3 separate regions of the Homo sapiens genome follow, and all the other regions are linked to region 1. Evidence: promoter capture Hi-C in human tissues and cell types (Jung and others, 2019). All regions are on one chromosome and are shown on one strand. The core of a region is centred on a gene start or on the middle of the fragment in contact, and the rest is flanking DNA. Distances in the headings are between cores, read along the strand shown.

Region 1 (4,983 bases), core at 1,804-4,303:
CGCCATTCTCACGCAGTCTTTCTCACACACTATTCTCATCCTCCTTCCCCTCCTGCTCTCTTTGTTCATCCTTTTGGATAAGGCCTATGTTACACTGCCCATATGTCACGCACTAACTTCATCTCCAATTTCTCTCCAACTTGTCTCCTGAGCTGCAATCAAGATAATCTACTTGCTGTAACCTGGAAGTGACTTACTCACAAGTACCTTTGTTCATGATTAACTATTTATCAGCACAATCCTCCCTACTTTGTCTCTGCTAACCCATAGCTACCACCAATCTCAAGTCCCCTCTTTTGTATGTGTTGGAAAGTATATAACTTAACTACATATCATTGTTTTCATCTTATAACCTTATTTCTTTTGTATTTGTCTCACAGTGTGTATTACAGTGTTTCCTAACTAAGGCCGTATATCACAATCACCTATGGAGCTTCCTAAAAAATACGAAGGCCTGGCCGGGCACAGTGGCACATGCCTGTAATCTCAGCACTTTGGGAGGCCGAGGCGGGCAAATCACAAGGTCAAGAGATGGAGATCATCCTGGCCAACATGGTGAAACCCCGCCTCTACTAAAAATACAAAAATTAGCTGGCCACGGTGGTGCGAACCTGTAGTCCCAGCTACTCGGGAGGCTAAGGCAGGAGAATCACTTGAACCTGGGAGGAGGACGTTGCAGTGGGCCCAGATCGTGTCACTGCACTCCAGCCTCGTGACAGAGGAAGACTCCATCTCAAAAACAAACAAACAAACAAACAAACAAAGGCCTTCAGCTACTTGGGAGGCTGAGGTGGGAGGATTTTTCTCAGTCCAGGAGATGGAGGCTGCAGTGAGCTATGATCACGCCATTGCACTCCAGCGCCTGCGTGACAGAGCGAGACCCTGTCTCAAAAAAAAAAAAAAAAAAAAGCAAAATACAAAGGCCTTGACCCGTGGGAGCTGGACATCTTAATTTCTAAAAAGCCTCACTGATGATTTTCATGAACACTCTTAAGCTGAGAAGCACTGATTTATTGCAGTGTTTTCCATATAGCAGACATTCAATGCTTATTAATTCATGGCATGGAAGCCCATAAATAACTTTTCTCTAAATAGCCTAACCAGATATCAACCCCTAGACTACACTAGCTCTGTTCCAAGTGCAACATGTGGTTTTAAGATTTCATTTCCTGAAGTACTACATGGAGAGACACTATTACCTTGTCTCTTTACATTGTTTCCTATTTGTTGAAAAATGGAGGCCTGGAATGCAGCCATGTTAGACAACACTACATAAGAATGTACTCTGGAGTGTTCTGTTCAAATTAGTTATAAAAAGAAGAACAATGTACAAGTAGACATTGTGAATGAATACAGCATTCTTACTGAATGAATAGATTCTTACTAAAGCTATAGAGAAGAAAGATCAGGAATTTGGTCGGTGGTGTCACCCTGTCTTCCTAGCTACCAGTCTCCTAAATTGCTTGAGACAGTCCAGGGACCCCTGAAGACTGAGGAAGACTTTCAGCTGCTAAAGAGCCTCTAAGTGCACTAAAGTGCTCAAATCAGAAAAGTAACCCAAGCCCCACCCAGACAGACCCACAGTTGCCGCCCAACTGCCCTGACACACACTATTTACACAGCTCAGTGGGGGAGCAGTATGAACTTTTTCCAAAATTGTTCCTCACAAGCAGGACCAGTCTGAGTCACCCACCCAGGGTGGGAAAGAAAAGTGTGACATTAGCCAGGGGAGTCTTGGGAGACTGGTCTCAGCACCTCTTTTTTCCCATTTCAGACGTGGGCTCCACCTCCTCCAGGAATCACCTCGGTTATGAGTCACAGCTGTGGGTTACAGGGGTCTGCAGAGCCACCAGGAAAGTTGTGGATGGGGAGCGGATGCCCCAGCCTTCTCTCCGGCAGGGGCGGCAGATCCCAGATTCCACAGGCCTCTCCCAACAGCTCCATCTTGCTTCCTGCCAGGAGGAGGGGCCAAGGAGGGCCCCCGAGTCTAGAAAGGCCCCAGTGGGAGGAGGCCGTTTGACAGCAGGTAACGCCAGGTGAAAATGTCCACAGGAGGGAATGAAAGGAAGGGCAGCAGGGCTGAGCGGAAGGAAAAACCGGGCTTGTGGTCACGAATGACTGCATAAAGGTGTGAGAGTGCCAGAGGAGTGAGCATAAGTAAAATGCCCAGGAGGGAGGAGGAGGCGACAGAGAGTGAGGCAAGTGAATAAAAGGGCGGAATACAGGGAGCTCTGGGGAGCGGGGGTGGGCGAGGCGGGTCTCAGGGTGAGGGGCAGAAGTATTAGAAAGGAGGACAACGTGGCTCAAATAAGGATCCCTAGAAGAGAAGGCAAGGGATCCGTGGGAAGGCCCGCTCTCCCTCCCCCGCACAGCCAGATCGAGGAGGCCTAAAAGGCGCTGAGAGCGAGGAAGTCAACGTGGGGGCGAAGCCTGCGCGGGGCAGGGACCCTCGGACATCCCAGCAACTCTCATTTATTGGGTGTCTGCTGTGGGCCACACGCCGCGCGAGGCACTCCACGAATAATACCTCGCCATATCTTCACGACAAGCCCGCAAGGCAGCCTTTTTCATGACTGCTCCCATTTTATAGATGAGGACACTGAGGCCCGGAGAGGCTCAGGACTCGCTCAAGGTCACAGGGCGGAGAAGAGGCCATTCGAACCCTCGGCGCCTGGCTCCGGAACCCACGCGGAAAGCCACGGCCAGCGAGCCGGCCACAGGCAGCCGCGACGCGGGCCGGGGCCCCGGGGATACCTCCCGCGCCCGCTCCCGCGCCAGGCCCTGCGCGCTCACCCGGACGAGGTTGCTGACGGCCGCCTGCACGGCGGCCACGGGCGCGGTGAGGTCAGGAATGGCTTTGCCGTCCACCTCGCCCTCCTCGTGCATTATCACCAGGTGGGAGATCTGCTGTGCCACCGGCTCCAGGATGCTCTCGATCGTGCGCGTATGAAACACTGGCATCGCGGCGGCGAGCGGGGCGGCGAACCGCGGGCGACAGAGAAGTAGGATCCACGGGGCCGGGAACCGGCGAAGAGACAGACTGTGCAGCGACTACGGAGTCGGGGCTTCCCTCGGCGTAACCAGCCTCACGGGCTCCCCGCCCCCTCTCGTCGCCGCGCCCAATGGCAGCGCAGCTCAGACCTGGGCCGCCACTCCTACTGGTCCCTTTTCGAGATGCTCCGCCCCAGCCACCGCGCCGCCAAACCCCGCCCCTCCCCCATTCCTAAGGGAGGGGCCTGGGATTGGGGCTGAGCCGCCGGGATTGCTACCGGATTCCCGAGCCCTAACGCCGGGCGCTCCTTATAAGGGCATGGTGGGAGCGGAGCGGGCCGCTGGAGCCGGCTGGTCCCGCCCCCGGGCCGCCTCCCGCCTCGGATCTGGGGGGCTCCGCCCCTCTGCAGAATCACCTCAGCGGGGCGGGGTCTCCTCACCTCAAGCGGCGCTAGAGTTTGATGAGACCAAGGGGTCTCCCACGTCCCCTCCTCAACTTTTCCCTTCACACGAAACCCTCAAAATACTCCTTCCATTCCCTCCCAGCAATGCATGGGAAGGTTTTTAGTAAAAGATTCAAACAGCAGAGGTGCACTGAGAAACAGCAGCGTCCCATTCACGTAAACGCAGACTCCGCCCCCTGCCCTCCTCAAAGACATTCTGTTTAACAGCTGGGTGTGTAGCCTTCTAGACTTGTCTATAGATTCACTTCTACATATATATTTTCTAACTAAATGAGATTAATAAACATTTTCCTGGAACTAGGTATGATTGCCCTTGATTAAAATGCCCTTATCTTTCACTGCTGGTAGAGGTCTACCTCATTCTTCTTAATGACTGCATGATATTCCATTGCATGAAATAAAACTATTTACAGAACCAATTTCCTACTCATGGACTTGGGTTGGGTCCTGGTTTTCACTATTAAAAAACAATTCTGCATGAATTGTACTTACCCCTGTGCTGTGCATCTGTGTATTTATCTAGCGCAAATGCCTACCAGGAAAGAGAAAAACGCAAAAGTATATGCATTTTATATTTTGATAGGTAAGACCAAATTATCCAGTTCCCTCACGCTTTGTATAAGACATCTTCCAGGCCGGGCGCGATGGCTCACGCCTGTAATCCCAGCACTTTGGGAGGCTGAGGCGGGCGGATCACGAGGTCAGGAGATCTAGGCCATCCTGTCTAACACGGTGAAACCCCGTATCTACTAAAAATACAAAAAAAATAGCCAGGCGTGGTGGCGGGCGCCTGTAGTCCCAGTTACTCATGAGGCTGAGGCAGGACAATGGCGTGAACCCGGGAGGCGGAGCTTGCAGTGAGCGGAGATCGCGCCACTACACTCCATCCTGGGCGACAGAGCAAGACTCTGTCTCAAAAAAAAAAAAAAAAAAAAAAAGACATCTTCCAAACGTCTTACTTACTTCAAATTCGCTTTTGCCCAAGCTTTCCCATTCTGAGGTAAACACTTTCAGTAATGCCTCCAAGCAAAAGATTCTCACATCAAATGAAAATTTTTGTCTAGTCCTACCACAACCACCACAGCTGTTTTCTCTGCCCATTACTTTGTGTTAATAGTATAAATATTTGGGTGATGGGGCCAGGCACGGTGGCTCACGCCTGTAATCCCAGCATTTTGGGAGGCTGAGGCAGGCAGATCACCTGAGGTCAGGGGTTCAAGACCAGCCTGGCCAACCTGGTGAAACCCCGTCTCAACTAAAAATACAAAAATTAGCCAGGTGTGGTGGCAGGTGCCTGTAATCCCAGCTAATCGGGAGGCTGAGACAGGAGACTTGCTTGAACCTGGGAGGTGGAGGTTGCAGTGAGCTGATACCGTGCCATTGCACTCTAGCCTGAGCAACAGAGTGAGACTCCCTGTCCAAAAAAAAAAAAGTTGAGTGATGGAACGATATGATTTTTTTATTTTAAAAATTATTTTATTTTATTTATTTTTATTTATGTTTTTATTTTTTGAGATAGGGTCTCACT
Region 2 (4,983 bases), core at 967-3,466, 1.1 Mb before region 1:
TTTGAGGCTGCAGTGAGCTGTGCCACTGCACTCCAGCCTGGGTGACAAAGTGAGACGTTATCTCAAAAAAAAAAAAGTCTGAACTAGAGTCTGAGTTAATGAGGAGTCCCTGTGCTGATAGCTCTTCAAAGGCAAGGTCACTTTCATGGAAGGAAATGGCACTCCAGGCCTTAGTGGTCAAGTACTGCTCGGCCTCTTGCATCTTCTGTTATCATGGTAGCTTTGTTTTTTCTTTTCTCCTTACATTTTTATTTTTAATTGACAAATAATAATTGTATTTGTGGGATACGATGTGATGTTTTGATATATGTATACCGTGTCTTTCACCTTTAAATGTTTTTAAATTAGCTGTACCTTGGTTTAGTTTCCTTTAAAAGCACACTCTGAGACTAGAGTTTGGGTGCATGTTGTTTATTTGAGAGGTGCTCCCGGGAGCACGGTGTGGCATGCAGAGCACCCAAGAGGGAGGAGAACCAGTGAAGGATGTGTAAGCGAGCAGAGTCCCACTCTGGGCAACTGGAGCTCCAACACACGGGCCAGCCTCCAGGAGACTGTGCAGGACATATTTCAAAAGTGGTCCACTCAGGGTTGAGGAAGTGGGGATGTTTATCCACCAACTCCTGCCTCTAATTGGTGACAACTTCTGGGGGATGTTAACTCCACATACTGCAGGCCTGACCAGCACAAGGACTAGAAAATGCCCTCAAGCAGGAAAACAGGCATCTGAGGTAGGAAGGCTTTTATGTATATAAAGAACTGTCCACTTCTGCTGCAGTGACTTGAGCTGAGGAGGCACCTGTAGGCACCTGTAGTAGATGCTATCCTTGTAACAGGGCAAGAATAGCATCGATTACAGGGGCTTACATTTAAAAATCAATAGATTTCTCACAACAATCTATGAGGATCATAAAAATACCAGAAAATCTGGGCTTGCATTCCCACATGGGACAGCAAGCTGCTGCCCCCTTAATGGAGGCATATGCTCCCTGATGTGCCACACTCCCCACCACTCCCTAATGTCTCTTGCCTGAGGCCAACAGCCAGGTTTTTGTTTGTTTACTTTTTAACACCCAACCTACTTCCTTCCTCTATGTTATCTGCCTGGCCCCTCCCTGAAGGAGCCTGAGTTTGTCACCTTTTAAGGAGGAGACAGGCTGCCATTGCATGTAGGCCAAGTCGTCTCGGAGACAGCATTTGATTTCCTGGGACCAAATCTTTAAATATGAAGCTGTAACAGGAACCTGGGGGCCTCTCTTGACAGCCTGCCCAGCTCTCATTATGACATTTAGCCTGTGATTGATATTGTGTGTGTCATTGAGACCTTGGCAGTTAATCTCTGGGTCGAATCTATGGAAACCAAACAGAACAGATTTGTCTTCCCTTCCATGTTGGCTGTGATCTGGGAAACAGATGCTCCTGGCCTCTCTGAGAATTAGAGAGTTGGGAGCCATGCAGAGAGGGTGCACACAGGCCGCCTTCAGGATTTGGAAAGATTACAGGTCTGTGGTTTCTGGACGGTTCCACACTTTGTTCTCTTTCCCCATCAAATCTGCGTGCTGGAGGATAATAGATCCCAGGGCTCACTCTGCGTGCCAAGCTCCTCGGGGTAGACCGCACCACTTCCTCCTTTGTCTGGAAATCCAGCCGAGGCTTTCAGCACAGAGATGGAGACGGGGATGGTTCCCTCCACAGTGTAATGAAGGAAGAATGGCCTCACCAAGGGTGAGGTCAGCTTCAGTGATCAAAGGAGGCAGACGGAGGTTTCAGAACGGAATTGACTCTAGCGTCTCCCGAAAATCACCTCTTCTGAAGCTTCCATTAACCGCAGGCAGGGTTCAAGATGGCCTAAACCACCTTTAGGTGTATGGTGCCCAGCTTCTACTCACTTCGAACAAGAAGAGTGGGTGCCATGGACGAGCTGAGCTTCACACCTTTAGACACTGTGGGCCTGAAGCAAGGAGGGCTATAACTACGTATGCTCTTAGGGGACTGAAAGGTCTGGGCTCGTTTCTGTGAGAAAGATTTCTGGCCACTCCTTAAAATAATTTCTTCCTTCCTGACTGGAAACACAGCAGGCAGGCCCCAGAATAGAGTTTGGGCCTGAATGACCACCCGTGGGGGAGGGCAGCCCACCCTGCGCCTGCAGTCCCCTCACCTTCTCCCTCCTCCAAATCAGCCTGGAGGCTCAGTCCTGCCTTAGCAGCTCTTGCTGAGCCCCTTGCACAGGCCTCACAGCCCTTAATCATTCCTTCACCCCTCAGTCACTCATTCACTCATTCCATTCATTCACTAAGCCACTTCCTCATCCAACCCATATCTCCTGAGCACCTCTTACGTGCCAGACACCAAGGCTACAGAGAGAAGCCACACTCAGGAGCCCCGAAGCAAGGTCCTCTCTCCTCCCAGCCTGCAGCTGCATTCTGGGCCAAAGACCGGGCCTCCCACCCCACTGGGACAGCGGGAGGCATTTTGAATGAGCACCCTCACTACCTTTCCCTTGACTCCGCAGCACCCTGGCTCTCTAGCCACATCTCAGACAATTATTATCAAACTTTACTAAGCGTCAGACTCACTTCGGAGCTCATTGAGATACAGATGCCTGCGCCCCTACGAGGGTGCAGCCCGGATATCTGTATTTTTGGTTAGTGCCAGGTGACTCTGACAGACGTGGTCTTCAGACCACACTTTGAGAGACTTCACAGGAGGGTCCCCTTTGCTGCCTATTGCCCTCTCCACACTTCACCAGGAAGCAGGAAGTTGTTGGAGGAAGTCACAAACCCTGGCTTCCCACAATCCCTACAGACACTCATGGCTAGCTAGTGATCCTTTAAGTCATCTGCTATGGACTTGGGAGAATCCAATTCCCCAAAGCAGTGGTCTCAACCCTTTCCTTTTAAATTTCTATCATGGAGAATTTCAAACACACCTGAAGAGAAACAGCAACTGGCCAGGTGTGATGGCTCACACCTGTAATCCCAACACTTTGGGAAGCTGAGGTGGGAGGATCACTTGAGCTCAGGAGTTCGAGACCAGCTTGGCCAACATAGCGAGACCTCATCTCTATTTTAAAAAAGGAAAAAAGAGAAACAACAACTACCTTATAACCATCATCCAGCCCCAATCACCATCACTCATAGCCAGCCCATCTCATTCACACCTACATCAATACCTTGCCCCAACATTATATTATTTATATTTTCCAACTATATTATTTTTGAAGCAAATATTTCAGTATGTTTTTCTAAAAGATAAGGCCCTGTGGTATAACGTAACTGTCCTCGGAATCTCCAGCAAGTCGGCTGATAGATATAGACCTCTTTGGTGAGATGATTCCCGCCATGGTGGTGTGCTCTTCTATTCGAAGGCATATGATGTCTGACCATCTCTTCTTATTCATACGTGGCTGGCAGTTTATGCTCAGTCTCTGGATGCAGCAACTCATCAGGTGGTGTAAAATGGTGCTTCCTTCTTTATTCATTATCTGGAATACTTCTATAAAAGAACATTTCCCGTATCAACCCAGTAGTATATAGTTTGTAAAAGAGAGAAGCAATACATGCAGATTCTTCTCCTTTATCTATCCATCTTCAAAATAAGGAGCTGGTTCCCAAACATCTTCCAACCGTGCATAATAAGTTTTGGGTTTTTTTTTTTTTTTTTATAAGGTCTCACTGTGTTGCCCAGGAGAGCAGTGATATGATCTTGGCTCACTATAGCCTCAGCCTCCTGGGCTCCAGTGGTCCTCCCACCTCAGCCTCAGCCTCCTGAGTAGCTGGGACTACAGGCATGCACCACCACACCCAGCTAATTTTTGCATTTTTTTGTAGAGATGGGTTTTGTCATGTTGCTCAGGCTGGTCTTGAACTCCTGGGCTCATGCAATCTGCCCACCTCAGCCTCCCAGAGTGCTGGGATTACAGGCATAAGCCACTGCTCCCGGACTGTTTTCAGTATTATTATTATTATTTTGAGATGGAGTTTCACTCTTGTTGCCCAGGCTGGAGTGCAGTGGTGCGATCTCAGCTCACTGCAACCTCTGCCTCCTAGGTTCAAGCGATTCTCCTGCCTCAGCCTCCCAAGTAGCTGGGATTACAGGCACCCGCCACTACACCCGGCTAATTTTTTGTATTTTTAGTAGAGATGGGGTTTCGCCATGTTAGGCAGTCTGGTCTTGAACTCCTGACCTCAGGTGATCTGCCCGCCTCGGCCTCCCAAAGTGCTGGGATTACAGGCATGAGCCACCGCGCCTGGCCTTCAGTATTATTATGACCTAAGTGTTTGATGTGTTTTGATCCACTGGAATTATTTTTATTTTTCATGTTCAAATTGTTCCAGTTTTGATAAGTGGAAGCTTCTTCAAGTTGTATTCTGAGTCCCTTTGACATGTTCCTAATGGTCTTTGAAGCCATGAACCCTTTCCTACATTCTCTGCATCCCCGGCCTGCCCCTCCTCACACTGCACCTCCCATCTCCCTCCCCCTGACACTAAGACCCTGTGCTACAGACAGCCTCAATTCATGATCCTCCTTATCTGTAAAATGGGGCTAATGATAGGGTATTAGGATAACCCTATCTCAGTGTTGTTAAGATTAAATGGGCTTACAATCATCAAGCACTTGGAATAGTGTCTGGCACACAATAGGTGTTATATAAGTATTTGTCAAATAAATAAACAAATAGCATTCACCTCCATGGTTCTCAGTCTTCCCACCTTTTCCTCCTTCTCTCCAGTCTCCTTTCCCAGGCTGACCATAGGTGCATCATTTACTCAGCTCAGGAAACAATCAATGTCCAATTCCACTGCAAATTCCTCTCCTTGGGGACAATGGAAAGTCCTCTCCCACATTCCACTGGCAGAGCCTAACAAGCTCTCCAAATGCACATTTCAGTCTCGAGGCACAGCTTTCTATCTTGGGGCATCTCTTCCAATCCCCTTGGTAAGTTAACACAGTGATGGCCAGGCTCCCAGTGTGAGAGTGTGAGC
Region 3 (4,983 bases), core at 1,037-3,536, 1.0 Mb before region 1:
TGCAACCTCCGCCTCCCGGGTTCAAGGGATGCTCCTGCCTCAGCCTCCCAAGTAGCTGGGACTACAGGTGCATGCCGCAACACCCGGATAATTTTTTGTATTTTAGTAGAGATGGAGTTTCACCATGTTGTCCAGGCTGGTCGTGAACTCCCTGAGCTCAGGCAATCCGCCTGCCTCGGCCTCCCAAAGTGCTGGGATTACAGGTGTGAGCCACCGTACATTTTATTTTCATTGGTTAGCTGGAATATGTTTATAAAAAGATGTTTCTGGCCAGGTGCAGTGGCTCATGCCTGTAATCCTATCACGTTGGGAAGCCAAGGCAGATGGATCGCTTGAGCGCAGGAGTTCAAGACCAGCCTGGACAACATAAAGAGACTACAGAAAATGAAAAAATCAGCTGGGCATGGTGGTGTTTACCTGAAGTCCCAGTTACTCAGGAGGCTGAGGTGGGAGGATCTCTTGAGTCTAGGAGGTGAGGCTGCAGTAAGCTGAGATCGCACCACTGCACTACAGCCTGGGTGATAGAGCAAGACCCTGTCTCAAAAAATTTTTAAAAATTTAAAAAATAAAATGATGTTTCCCCTCCTTTACTACTTGATTACTTCACTGTACAGTTTATGTAAGAAAGGCAGGATAAATGTTTTAATTGCAATTTTTGCAGCTTTCAAGAAAATAAACTGGTTCCTATTATCCTCTAAATCAGTTTGTTTTTTAGTATCATTATGAACTTGTGAATTTAAACATTTGACAAGTTGCAATAAATTGCAATTTTTTATCTTTATTATTATATTTATTGTCTGGTCAGAACCTCTTCAAATTGACTCCTGAGTCTTTTTGACATGACCCTAACAATTTTTGCTTCCTTGCTGTCTAGTATGACAAGGAGGACTTTTGTTTTGTTTACAGAAATAACTCTTCGACTTCATTTAAAATGATGACTGTATTTGCCCCCAAAAAAGGACATATGCAAATTTATTGTGGAGACTGACGTCCGCCTGTATTACATTTTCTCATGATTTCAGCAACACCTTTTCGTACCTTCTGCCGTGTAATTGTGCTGCATATTTATTTCCATGTGGACAAATGGTTCATGTGAAACTGAATTGCTTTTAATCCACCCAACCATTTTTATACACTTTAGAAACATTAATTTAAAACAATTTTGCTGAAAAAAAGCGTTCCTCTATGATGTTAACTCAAAGCAGGACTCCATATAAATAATTACAAAAAAGGTTTTTATATTGGTAAACATGAAAATGTAGCATGAATATTAGAGTACAAACATGCTAACCACAAATCCATGGGGGAGAAAAAAAATCAGATTCCTAACTAGTATTTTCCTAAACAATTCTAAACAAGTTAAGGAAAACCTTTTGTTTTACCCAATATGAAATTATATTTAAAAACAAACAAACAAAAAACCAACAACCAACCAACCAACCAACCAAAAAACTACCTTACAACCAGCTGAAGTTATAGTTGTGTTGTTTAGGGCCAGGCGTGGTGGCTCATGCCTGTAATCCCAGCACTTTGGGAGGCTGAGGTGGGTGGATCGCTTGTATTCAGGAGTTTGAGACCAGCCTGGGCAACATGGCAAAACCCTGTCTCTACTAAAAATACAAAAATTACCCGGGCATGGTGGCACGTGCCTGTGATCCCAGCTACTCAGGAGACTGAGGCAGGAGAACTGCTTGAACCCGGGAGGCAGAGGCTGCAGTGAGCTGAGATCGTGCCACTGCACTTCAGCCTGGGCAACAGAGCAAGACTCGGTCTCAAAAGAAAAAAAAAAAAAGAACAAAAAAACGAAATGCCATCATGAGAGGGGTAAGTGGAAGCAAACTTTTATCTTAGAATATTCTATCTCAAACATAATGTCTCTATTACAAGCTGGAATATATGTTCAAGGGGGAATAGTTCTCTTGAAACCCAAATGAGGTATAGCACTAATTTCAACCAAGCAGAGCAAAATCTTTCTTGATCTTGTTTTAACAACAGCTCAGGGCATAGTGGCTCACACCTGTAATCCCAGTGCCTTGGGAGGCCGAGGCAGGAGCATAACTTGAAGCCAGGAGTTGGAAACCAGCCTGGGCAACAAAGCAAGAGCCTGTCTCTAGCTGACCCCCCACCCCTCCCCCTGAAAAATGGCCAGGAATGGTGGCATGTGCCTGTAATCCCAGCTACTTGGGAGGCTGACATGGGAGGATCACTTTAGCTCAGGAATTCAATGCTGCAGTGAGCTATGATCACGCCACTGTACTCCAGCCTGGGTGACAGAGTGAGACCCAGTCTTTAAAAAGAAAAGCAAGGAAAAATGCGTCTCTTCTATATATCTTAACTGGGTAAATGGAAAATAGAGTTGGAAGCATTTCCTCCTCTGCACTGCCACAGCCTCTCTGAAATTTGAAATTGCAGGACTGGGAAGAATTTTGTGTCTGACCCTCTACTTCCCTATGGGCAAGGACTAAATCATTCATCCTTATGTCCTCATCACCTAGACCATCCCTGGCACAGTGTATTTAAAGCATGTTTGCTGAAGGATGGGATGAAGGGATAAATAAAGTGTAAAAAACAAAGACTGAGAGGAGATCTGAGTTTAAGCACTACTGGTCAAAAGCTAGCTGGATGCATCTGGCAGGTGTTGACAGTCATACAAAGAAGTGGATTAACTAGACTCAGGCATTCATTGATTTCCCCCAACAATCCTTTATTCTGTATCCTCTATGTGCTAGGCACTGTGCTCATGGCTTGGAGTTTAGCAATGACCAAGTTCCTGCCCTCTTGATGGTCCCACTAAGGTTTCATTTTGTTCCAGTTCTGCTGAAGATTAGGTTATTCTCATACCAATTATTTGAATGGAATTTGTCCAGTAGTGGATTTCAAAATAACTCAATGCAAATGCCAGTCAACGTTAGAAATCCAAACAGACAAAAAATTTGTTTGGTAAAAAAAAAAAACCAACCACCTGCATGCCAAAACTTGAAAAAATTCTGAGCTATGTAAGGCAAAACACTAGCTTTCAGAAAAAATGAGAGAGACTGCAGACCGTATGTTTCATATTTACAATGTTTTCATTGAGGCAATGAATACAAACTATTCTATAAGAGCTATTTATTTGCTCTTATTTATGACAAGCTTAGCTTAAAAAAAGATACACAAATAAATCGTTAGCCGCACTGTCTCATGCAACTCATTTCAATGCATTCAGCAACAGTCAACCTCTGAATAAATCACTGAGAGCTCAATTTTCAACCTTGATGTTATCTTTAGCATATTAAAATATATTGTACCTCAGACCAATATAATAAAACAGTAATGGCAGAAGCTTTTAGTGTAACATATTATAATGAGAAAATAAGGAAAAATAGCCATTTTCCTTATTATATTACAGACTAGAATCCTATTAAAATAAATGTCATCATTATACTTGATTACATAGGTCAAAATGTGTCTTCCAAAACCCAGCAAAAGCCCAAGGATATAGCTGCTGGTCCAGTATTTTCCAACAAGTGTCATGGGGGCAAAGGTGGGAGGCTCCTTATCTTAGAAAAGGCTATGAAGTACTTGAGCACCATTTCAAAAGCATAACTTATTATTCTTTAATGATTGCCTTGACTGCACTCACCCAGGAGCGTAGCTGCTGGGAAGGCTAAGCAAAGAGAAGCTTTCTTGACAGCTTCTTATGGCTAAAGCTGGTATTTTCCTTTCAAAAATAAATGCAATCAAGAAATGAATTATCTGATAAGAGAAAAAGTAAGCAAAAGATTTAAGTGTCTCTTCAACCTGCTATGTACAAATGTGGATTATGTCACAGCTCTGCTTTCTCCGCCCAAGGTTTAGAGCAGGCAGTGACATCTTCTTTCTGATGCAACTGAAATGATCTTAAGATAGAGGCTGCATTTCAGCAAAAGTACCAGACCTCGAAAGAAGACAGGGCATACCTAGCATCATTTGGAAGTAAGTAAACCAGTGCTGATGGTTTATGTTCTAATAAAATAAAATTGTCCCTAAGAATCACACACTAGAAGGGAAAGCACATTTTAAAAGTTCTTCCCGTCATAATTAATTTAACATTTGTTCAACAATTAATAAGAACCTACTAAGCGCCAGGCTCTTCTAGAAGATCAGAATGCAGCAAAGAGCAAAGTCCACACTCTCATGAAGCTTACTTTTGGTGAAAGACATGGGCAATCAACAATAAATACAGTCATGCACCACATAATGATGTTTAGGTCAACGATGGACCACATATTCAATGGTAGTCCCATAAGATTATAACAGCATATTTTTACTGTACCTTTTCTATATTTAGATATGTTTAGATACAAAAATACCATTATGTTACAACCACTAACACCTACGGTATCCAGTACAGTAACTGCTGTCCAGGTTGGTCACCTAGGAGCAATCAGCTATGCCACATAGCCTAGGTGTGTAGTAACCTATAGACTTCGACTTAGGTCTGTCTAAGTACATACACTATGATGTTCACACGACAATGAAGTTGCCTAATGGTGCATTTCTCAAAATGAATCTCAGTTTTTAAATGATAAATGACTGTATATAAAAGACCTATGCAAGTTTATAAATGACTCTGCACTTGCTTAGCCTAGTTTGTTGTTGTTTTTTTTTTTTGGTTAGTGCCACTAAAAAGAGAGAGAGAGAGAAAACTAAATAACACAAGTCCCTAAGAGATGCTGTCATGGTCCCTCCAAACACATTTCTGAGGCTTGTTTGTGGGGCCTGTAAGTGGGGAAAGTGGAATATTTACTCTGCAGCCTCCCCCAGACAGACTTTATGATTCAAGTGAGTGCTTCATGATCTCCCTCATCATGTATATGACAGAATTTACACAGCTCCTGAGGCTGCTAGAGGTGAGGTGACAGGCACTGGAGCTCTGGACACCCAGGAGCAAAGGGAGCAATATCTCTGCTACCCATACCCATCCTCAGGTCCTGTCTTGGGAGGCACAGCCCTAAGCTGACC

What was found. Contacts are between HindIII fragments. The study calls those that stand out against the background at their distance.
Region 2: a fragment that was not itself captured here is called in contact with the fragment with the promoter of VCL in region 1 in 1 of the 25 tissues and cell types used here (lymphoblastoid cells).
Region 3: a fragment that was not itself captured here is called in contact with the fragment with the promoter of VCL in region 1 in 1 of the 25 tissues and cell types used here (dorsolateral prefrontal cortex).

What each region holds. Positions count from the first base shown.
Region 1 is chr10:73,996,186-74,001,168 of GRCh38, reverse strand. VCL (vinculin) reads right to left here and starts at 3,053. Exons shown (of 22, transcript NM_014000.3): 1 at 2,794-3,053. The coding sequence starts at 2,961. RefSeq lists enhancers at 2,101-2,752, 2,825-3,024 and silencers at 2,705-2,754, 3,085-3,444. The HindIII fragment of the contact is 15,261 bases long and covers 1-4,983 here.
Region 2 is chr10:75,059,146-75,064,128 of GRCh38, reverse strand. The region is part of intron 1 of DUSP29 (dual specificity phosphatase 29); the gene reads left to right. Among named protein-coding and RNA genes, the nearest start is that of DUSP29, 12 kb to the left of the region's middle. The HindIII fragment of the contact is 5,414 bases long and covers 1-4,923 here.
Region 3 is chr10:75,002,027-75,007,009 of GRCh38, reverse strand. All of the region lies in intron 13 of KAT6B (lysine acetyltransferase 6B), which reads right to left. Among named protein-coding and RNA genes, the nearest start is that of SNORD172, 17 kb to the left of the region's middle. The HindIII fragment of the contact is 3,250 bases long and covers 662-3,911 here.